Regions from separate parts of the Homo sapiens genome. Here region 1 is linked to region 2. The links are contacts of gene promoters, found by promoter capture Hi-C in blood cells and fetal thymus (Javierre and others, 2016). All regions are on one chromosome and are shown on one strand. Each heading gives the region's core, a stretch centred on a gene start or on the middle of the fragment in contact. The rest is flanking DNA. Distances are from core to core; before and after follow the strand shown. Region 1 overlaps LINC03033 (long intergenic non-protein coding RNA 3033). Region 2 holds the start of LINC03033 (long intergenic non-protein coding RNA 3033).

Region 1 (3,841 bases), core at 117-2,616, 42 kb before region 2:
GAAAAAAAAAAACCCTGGAAGGCACAAATTAAAACACAGCAAATTGTCTTAAGTGATAGAATTATAGGTATTTTTAAAATTCTGTCTACTTTCCTATAATTGCTTTTAAAACAGGAAAAATAACAGTTTTATGCACTAATTTGGTTAGCCTAAATAGCACCCAGTTGTTCAATCAAACACTAATCTAGATGTTGCTGTGAAGGTATTTTATAGTTGTGATTAATGCCTACAATCAGTTAACTTTATGTAAAAGAGATTATCCTTGATAATATGGGTGGGTTTGATCTAATCAGTTGAAAGGCCTTAAGAGCAGAACTGAGGTTTACTTGAAGGAGAAGAAATTCTGCCTTTGACTATAGCCTCAGATCTAACCTGAGCTTCCAGCCTGTCCTTCCTGATGATCTGCTCTATGAATTTTGGGCTTACCTAGCCATCTCCCACAATCACATAAGCCAATTCTTTGCAGTAAATCTTTTTTTAATATATTATCTGGCAGAACACTTAATGATTCAATAAGTTCTCACTGCTCTCCGTCAAGATACTGCAAAAAACGTCTTAAAGCATAGAGATGTTTTTTCTTATTTTGCATTTTTTTTCTTTCCAGGATTGAGACTTCTGGAAGTGGCATGAACATATTTAATTAACATGTACATTCTTTATTATAAACCCCAAACAGTTGGTATAGGGAACCCAGAGCCAAATTAAAGAGTGAGCCAGATGGGGATGTAATGAGGTATCAGTCTAAAATGGGTCTTGAAACATCTCTGAAAATATAAGAAGATAGAGAAAACTGAGTTCAACAGGAGCCCTCTCAGAGAGAGTACTGTTTGTGATTATAAGGATAATTTAGCAAATTCCTTGGGCTGGGGCAACAAGACTTCCAAAGAGAATACTTAAAAAAAAAAAAAAGTTTCTGACTGGGTGTGGTGGCTCATGCCTGTATTCCCAGCACTCTGGGAGGCCAAGGCGGGCGGATCACCAGAGGTCAGGAGTTCGAGACCAGCCTGACCAACATGGTGAAACCCTGTCTGTGCTAAAAATACAAAAATTAGCCGGGTGTGGTGGCATACTCCTGTAATCCCAGTCACTTGGGAGGCTGAGGCAGGAGAATTGCTTGAACCCAGGAGGTGGAGGTTGTAGTGAGCCGAGATTGTGCCACTACACTCCAGCCTGGGCAACAAAGTAAGACTCTATCTAAAAAAAAAAAAAAGGGTTTCTAAACTCCCCTCTAAAAGTGGTGAATCCAATTAACTATAGGAGCTTTTTCTTCGTTGGACTGTTCCAGTTTGGGACCAGAGCTGAACTGCAAGGGACAACCAAGGAGAGGCAAACCTCTACTACAATGGTCAGTTTATCCCCATGAAGCCCTTTGCCTCGCCTCTAAGAAAAATTTTAAAAAATATTTAAACAAATGTCTGTTGAATGAAGCGTCAAAACAGTAATCTAGTTGGGTTGCCCACTTATCTAGGCCATCCCTATGGACCTCAAATTGATATCTGAATTAAATTTATTAACCACATGCAGTGTATGTTTACTGTCTTGAAACAGTAAGGGGCAAATCTTATGACATTTTTAGAGTTTGGAGTAGAGACAGTTTGCATAATGGTGGGAATATGAGATGCCTAAATCCCAGAAGATCCCATAAATGGTGTGGGGTTTCAAGAGCTGTTTTCCAATTATTCAAAGAATGTATTTTGAGTACCAGGCATTATACCAAGTGCTATGGGTACAAAAGTGAGAGAGACAGTATGGACGGTCCTGACAGAGACTGGGGGAAAGTCAGCAGTAATTGCATAGTGATTACATGTATAATTACCTAATTGTAAGCACAGTAAAGGAAACATATATGCTGCTATGAGGACATACAATACAATGAATAGACTTACACATGTCAGAATGGTAGAAGCAGCTTTGCAGAAGCAGGAGATGTTTGGTGGGACTGATGATGAAGCTGCCTTTCCTAAGCTGTATGTGAGTCCCTGAATTAGGTTGGGCATGTGTTTGTGAGCGTGTGAGTAAGTGTGTGTGTGTGGAGGGGGTGGGAGGGAAGAGCAGATAGGAGATAGGCTGAAGAAGTTAGTGCCTGTGGCTATTCATCTTGGTATTTAGAAAGACCATCTAATCATCTCTTAGCAAAACAGCAGAAGGAAGACACAGCAAATACACTAAAAATATGAGTAGCTTTCCAGTGCCTCAAATGGTCCTGGGTCCTGAGTAGGTGCTTACTGAAGACTAAGTGAGGGAAAAATTGCCCAGGTGCTGCAGTATGTGCCAGGCACTATAATACAGTGCTTTACACAAACTTGATCTTCCCATGATGAAGTCATTATCCCAATAGAAATATGGGGAAGCCCCAGTCTAGAGATTTTGAAAAGCTAGCTCCAAGTTATAGAACCTAACATAAAAGCTAGATGTTTGCTAGAGCTACAGTGGAAATAAGAATGCAATCAGACTGGGTGCAGTGGCTCACGCCTGTAATCCCGGCACTTTGGGAGGCTCAGGTGGGGGGATTGCTTGAGGCCAGGAGTTCGAGACCAGCACGGATCACTTGAAGCCAGGAGTTTGAGACCAGCCTGGCCAACACAGTGAAACCCTGTCTCTACCAAAAAAATACAAAAATTAGCTGGGCGTGGTGATGCACCCCTGTAGTCCCAGCTACTTGGGAGGCTGAGGCAGGACAATGAATCACTTGAACCTGGGAGGTGGAGGCTGCAGTGAGCCGAGATCATACCACTACACCCCAGCCTGGGCAACAGAGTGAGAATCTGTCTCAAAACAAAAACAAAAACAAAACACAGAGATCCTCTGGTTTTTGTCTTGCTGGATCTACTAAGATCTGGCCAGGGTGGTCATGACAGGTTAGTATGAGATATGCTTTGACAAGTTAGAAGATATCGCTGACATTTCCAGTAAGGCTGCTGTGCTACATGTTATAGTGCTTTTGTTTGTCTGTGGTACACAATTATCTTGGGTTTCAGAATTCATCCTCAAAGTATTCCTCTGAATTAGGAATTCCAGTAAGAGTTACTGGCCGCAAATGACAGACACTGACTCTGGTTAACTTCAGCAGAGAAATTCACTAGAAGGATATCTGGGAGCCCAAATAATCAATGTCAAGCCCAGAGAATCAGGCTTGACAAACAGAAACCAGGGTGGCTTGGTTACAAACTAACAGCCAAAATCACAGTAAAGGAAGGGTCTGGTTAAACATCGCTGCTGCTGAACACCATACAGCACTCCTGGCACCATCGCCAGTCCCAGGAGAAAGGATTCCAAGATATCCTTGCACCTTCGAGTCACCTACTCCAGATTCAAAATTCCAGGTGGAATTCTGTCAATAGGAGCCCTCTCTGAGAGAATGAATCACTTGAACCTGGGAGACGGAGGCTGCAGTGAGCCAAGATCATACCACGACACCCCAGCCTGGGCAACAGAGTGAGACTCTGTCTCAAAACAAAAACAGAAACAAAACAAAGAGATCTATTAAACATCGGATCCGTTAAACATCATGTGGCCTGGTGGGCCACATTTAGGTCACCTGCAGGTGCTCTAGCTGTTCCTGCTTCCCAAGTAGTAGGCACAGCTGGGAGTAGGGTAAGGCATAAAATGGAAAGAGGCACTCACTCTCACGGACTTCTGTTTTTAAACAATGAACAATTTTTATAAAGAATAAATTTCAATTTTAAAGATATTCAAATTCAGTAAATATTTCATATATGAACTTAAAATTTACACACAACCAACAAAAATGTGACACCATGCAGTTTGCAATCTGTTTCATTGTTTTAAATTTTAGATACAAATTAAAAACTCCTTATGGTCAAATAGGATGGAAATAATT
Region 2 (3,885 bases), core at 724-3,223:
GTGATGTAGAGTAGTAGATGGCAGCTCTACTCTGGAAGTCCAGAATACTGCTCTGATTCACACCTGCAAGCCTTATTGGTCAATGACTACTGATATTCCAGCCACCCAAACAACTGCTTTCGGAGAAGCATTAATACCTGCGAATAAAACAAATCTATTCGTTTCATACATTTGGTTCAGAACACTAGGAGAATTTGAGAAGAGACGAGCCAGCCCCAAGCTGTCCTTGTTTCTTTTATTAAGAATAGGCCATGATTTGAGCACATTCTACTACTTGCCTCACTTCAGCCTATTGATGGGGGAAAAGTGAGAGTCTGTGTGTGGGGACTCTGGCTTGGCAGTGAGATCTAACACAGAAAGATCCTGAAGAAATATGCTGACAATGGGGTTTTATCTCTTCAATGCACTGGAGACAAAATCCCTGCTTTTAAAAACAACACTCATACAGAGCCAAGGATGTCCCAGAGTGAACAGTCCTAACCCTTTCTCAGCCTGCCTAAGAGCTCGTTGGTTTCAGAAGGATGAGCCAAGGACTGCTACTTAGAGACTACTGTCTAGGTCAACCCAACTGGCATAAGTAAAGCACCTACTGTTTATAGTAGGAGGCTGCAAGATAACAGGAGATGCAGACTATTGAAGGCTACTGATCTATCTGTGTAGACAGGCAAGAATAAAACAACTGGAGAAGAAATCCAGGATTACACAAAAAGAAGAGCGTGATGGTATGGTAGACTACTCCAGAACAGTGAATTTCCCCTGCATTAAGGATGAGATCCCTATGAATTGGGATCATTCAGGAAGTCTTCTTGGAGAAGAAAAGTTTGAGCATATGGGGAAAAAAAGTTGGATTGGCAAAGAGCTGAGCTGTCAGTAGCTGGGTCCTTAGTAAGTAGGCTGCATGGAGCTGGGAGTTATGCTAAAGGAGTTGTAATTTGGGATGCCTCTAATTAACCATTTTGGGAAAAATATAATAAATCCCTTTGTAGCATCTATAATAAACTGCCCAATATCTATGTGGTGGGGAAAAAGTTTTATTCTACGTTTCACGTGGATGGTGATAACACTAGGTAATCTCAGCATCTTTCTTATTCTCTTGCTAATCCAGGATTCTAAGTAATAATCACTTTGTTCTACAACCTGAATCTAGCCCTTGTACTGTGCAGTTTTTTTCTACACTTATTTTTCCTGTTGTCTGAATCAATCTCCATGGAAGCATAAGTTTTACTGAGTTTCAACCAGCTGTGTCCACCGAGGTAAAGATGGTAAAAATAAAAGGCACAGGGCATATATACCACAGCAGCAGTTACTTCCCACAAGGAACCAGAGATTGGAAGTGAAGCTAAAACATTTTCAGCTACGATAGCATCTCTTTCAAGGTGAGCCATTTCCCCAGGGAGAGTTTCCAGCTCTTAGCAAAGGCAGAACAATAAAACATCAAGGATGTCTTTCTAAGGCTGCAAACAGAATAGCCAATACCTTGAAGCTGATCTGCTTCAGAGTCCTTTAAAAGCCAGGACAGCAACAAAGTGCCCACATTACATTTTCTACAAGCTTGCTAAGCATCTCTTTTCCTAAACCACAAAACCCGAGACATTTCTACAGAACAGGCAGAAAGGGAAGTCCTGGGAGATCAGGGCCCTGTCTCAGCAGGCATCACTCCAGCCTGTCTTTTCCCGAGTGGTTTTCTGCACTTCTCTTCCATCTTTTCCCCTCTGTCCCACACTGGAAGTCACTAGTCTGTGCCCTCCTTACCTCCCATGGTTTCTGCACCTTCATTTCCAAAGGCAAGTGAAAACAGTGCCAGGCTGCGCACATGGGTTACTCCAGGGACTTCTCTTCCCGTTTCCCCTAAAGCATTTGACAGTTAGATCTTGGAACTGAGTCCAGCAGCACTGAGGTCAGAGAGATGGCTAAAGCTAAAAGCAAACTGGATGCTGTTCAGGAGGTTCTCCTTTGTCATTTTTATCTCCAAATAGAAGACCTCTGTTTTCCCAGAAGATTAAATAGTAGAAAAGAAGTAGCCCAAGGTGGGTGACTCTGCAAACAGGTGGGTGAGGTCTCTAGTTGAGTGAGGGGGTGTCTGTGGGTTGTGGGTTCTTCTTATGAGCAGAGCTTGGAGGAATTTGTTCTATTTGTTGTGGTTTTCCCAGGGGGAAGTCGGGGGTGGCTGGGACTCTAATGATCATTATCAGAAGACTTTGGATTAGGCCTCTGAAACTTTAAGATGTGGATCCTCTCGCAATCATGTTAAAATGCAGATCTCCTTTCAATAGGTCTGGGACAGAGCCTGGCTTTTCTATAAAGCTTCTGGTGATGGGATGTCGCTGGTTCTCAGCCACAATTTGAGTAGCAAGAGGTTAGCTTTTCTACTTACTGCCTTCATATCCCCAGTTGGGCTATGTCGTTTTATCAAAACAATGTGGTAAGAGTGAGCGCCAATTACTAGCCTGTTGAATCATCCATTGTTAGAGCTGTTTCTTTGAGGTACATTTAAGAGGCCCCTCCCTGTGGTTCCCCATTGCACAAGAAGCCCATTTGCCAGGCAATACCTTGGGCAAGCAAGCCACTGTGCAAAATTGCATTGGCTCTTCCTGCTGCCAGCCAGGCGGCTGCTGGTTGACGTTGGAGTTGTACAGTTTATGTGATAGTGATGACAGCGCTGGCTCTGAAGGGTACTGAAGATTTTGAAGGGGTACTTCGCTGCAGCAGCTTCACCTCTCACTTTTGTTTACCCACCCCCGAGGCTTGTGGGAGAGAAGGATCAGGCAGAGCTCTGCACGTGCCATGCCAGGGGTGGAGGAATTATATTTTTATTTTTTGCTTTCTCTGCTACAGGACATACCATGCCTTTTACAGATATTTATAGGACAATTTCCCTCCTGAGAGTGCCCAAGCATGGGGGATGGTGAGGAAGATGACTGAAGGAGAAAGCAGGAAAAGGGGGTGTCTGCATGTATGAGGATTGGAAGGTGGGGAAAACCCTTCGTGTTTGGTTCAGCCTTCAAGAAAGAGGAGGGGTTGACTAGATTACAGATGTTAAACCAGGGGTCTGTGGTTCAAACCAGCAACTCTCTGCCCTTGTAAGCTGTATCTGGCTGGTGTGTTAATTTGTCTAGGGTAAGAGCCCCTAGGTTTCAACAGATTGTCCTAGAGTCAATGATACACAAAAGGTTAATCAGCCTCATTTCCAATCAGGATCATCTGCAAGTCCCTCCCAGAGCAGATATTTGGAGCACTAGGCTTCTAGAAGCAGCAGACATCAAGTTCGGGCCATGGGATTAGGGTGGACAGGGCAGCCACTTGGAATCATTTTCTACCAGAGGCAGAAGAGGCTCAGCTAGCAACAGCCCCATTTTACAGAGCAGAAGCCGAGCTGCAGTCAATTCAGTGATTCCTCCTAAAGTAGGGAGTCAGAAGCCGAGCCTGGACTGGAACCTCGGCCTCCTAGCACACAGAGCACAGGTCTACATTGGGGAAAAGCCCCTTCAATCTGGCAGTTGCCTGGAAAGCGCAAGACATTTGCGGCCAGAGCGCCAGGAGCCCAGCTGGTTATTTCTAGCTTCCTGAATGTCAAAAATACAGGCCGCTTCTCAAAGCAGCCTCCACTTGTCAGACCAAATCAAGGCATCAGCGCGTCAAGCAGGCGAATCCTCTGCCCCAGGCACCAGCCTGGGGGCGCACGCCCTGCCTCCGCCCCGCCCCACACGGCGCACCTGACCGGTTCCCGCGGTGCGCCTAACCGCGGGCGGGCGAGCGCTGCACCCACGCACCCGGGCGTCGCTCCCACCTGCACCCCGGCGTCACGCCTGAGCGCAATCTGCAGCCTTCACCCACCTGGGCGGCTGCCTGGCTTTGTTTAGAGTTGGAGTCAGCCCGGCAGCCTGC

The links. Contacts are between HindIII fragments. The CHiCAGO score rates a contact against its expected background, and 5 or more counts as called.
Region 1: a fragment that was not itself captured here is called in contact with the fragment with the promoter of LINC03033 in region 2 in 11 of 17 cell types (neutrophils, activated CD4 T cells, naive B cells and 8 more); the score reaches 16.9 in neutrophils.

Annotation. Positions count from the first base shown.
Region 1 is chr14:61,610,241-61,614,081 of GRCh38, reverse strand. The region is part of intron 1 of LINC03033 (long intergenic non-protein coding RNA 3033); the gene reads right to left. Among named protein-coding and RNA genes, the nearest start is that of LINC01303, 42 kb to the right of the region's middle. The HindIII fragment of the contact is 7,886 bases long and covers 1-3,841 here.
Region 2 is chr14:61,568,628-61,572,512 of GRCh38, reverse strand. LINC03033 (long intergenic non-protein coding RNA 3033) reads right to left here and starts at 1,973. Exons shown (of 3, transcript NR_039985.1): 1 at 1,753-1,973. It overlaps LINC01303 (long intergenic non-protein coding RNA 1303), which reads left to right and starts at 1,860. Exons shown (of 5, transcript NR_110416.1): 1 at 1,860-2,027; 2 at 2,836-2,969. RefSeq lists silencers at 2,683-2,875, 3,616-3,775, 3,856-3,885 and enhancers at 3,267-3,766, 3,767-3,885. The HindIII fragment of the contact is 753 bases long and covers 1,554-2,306 here.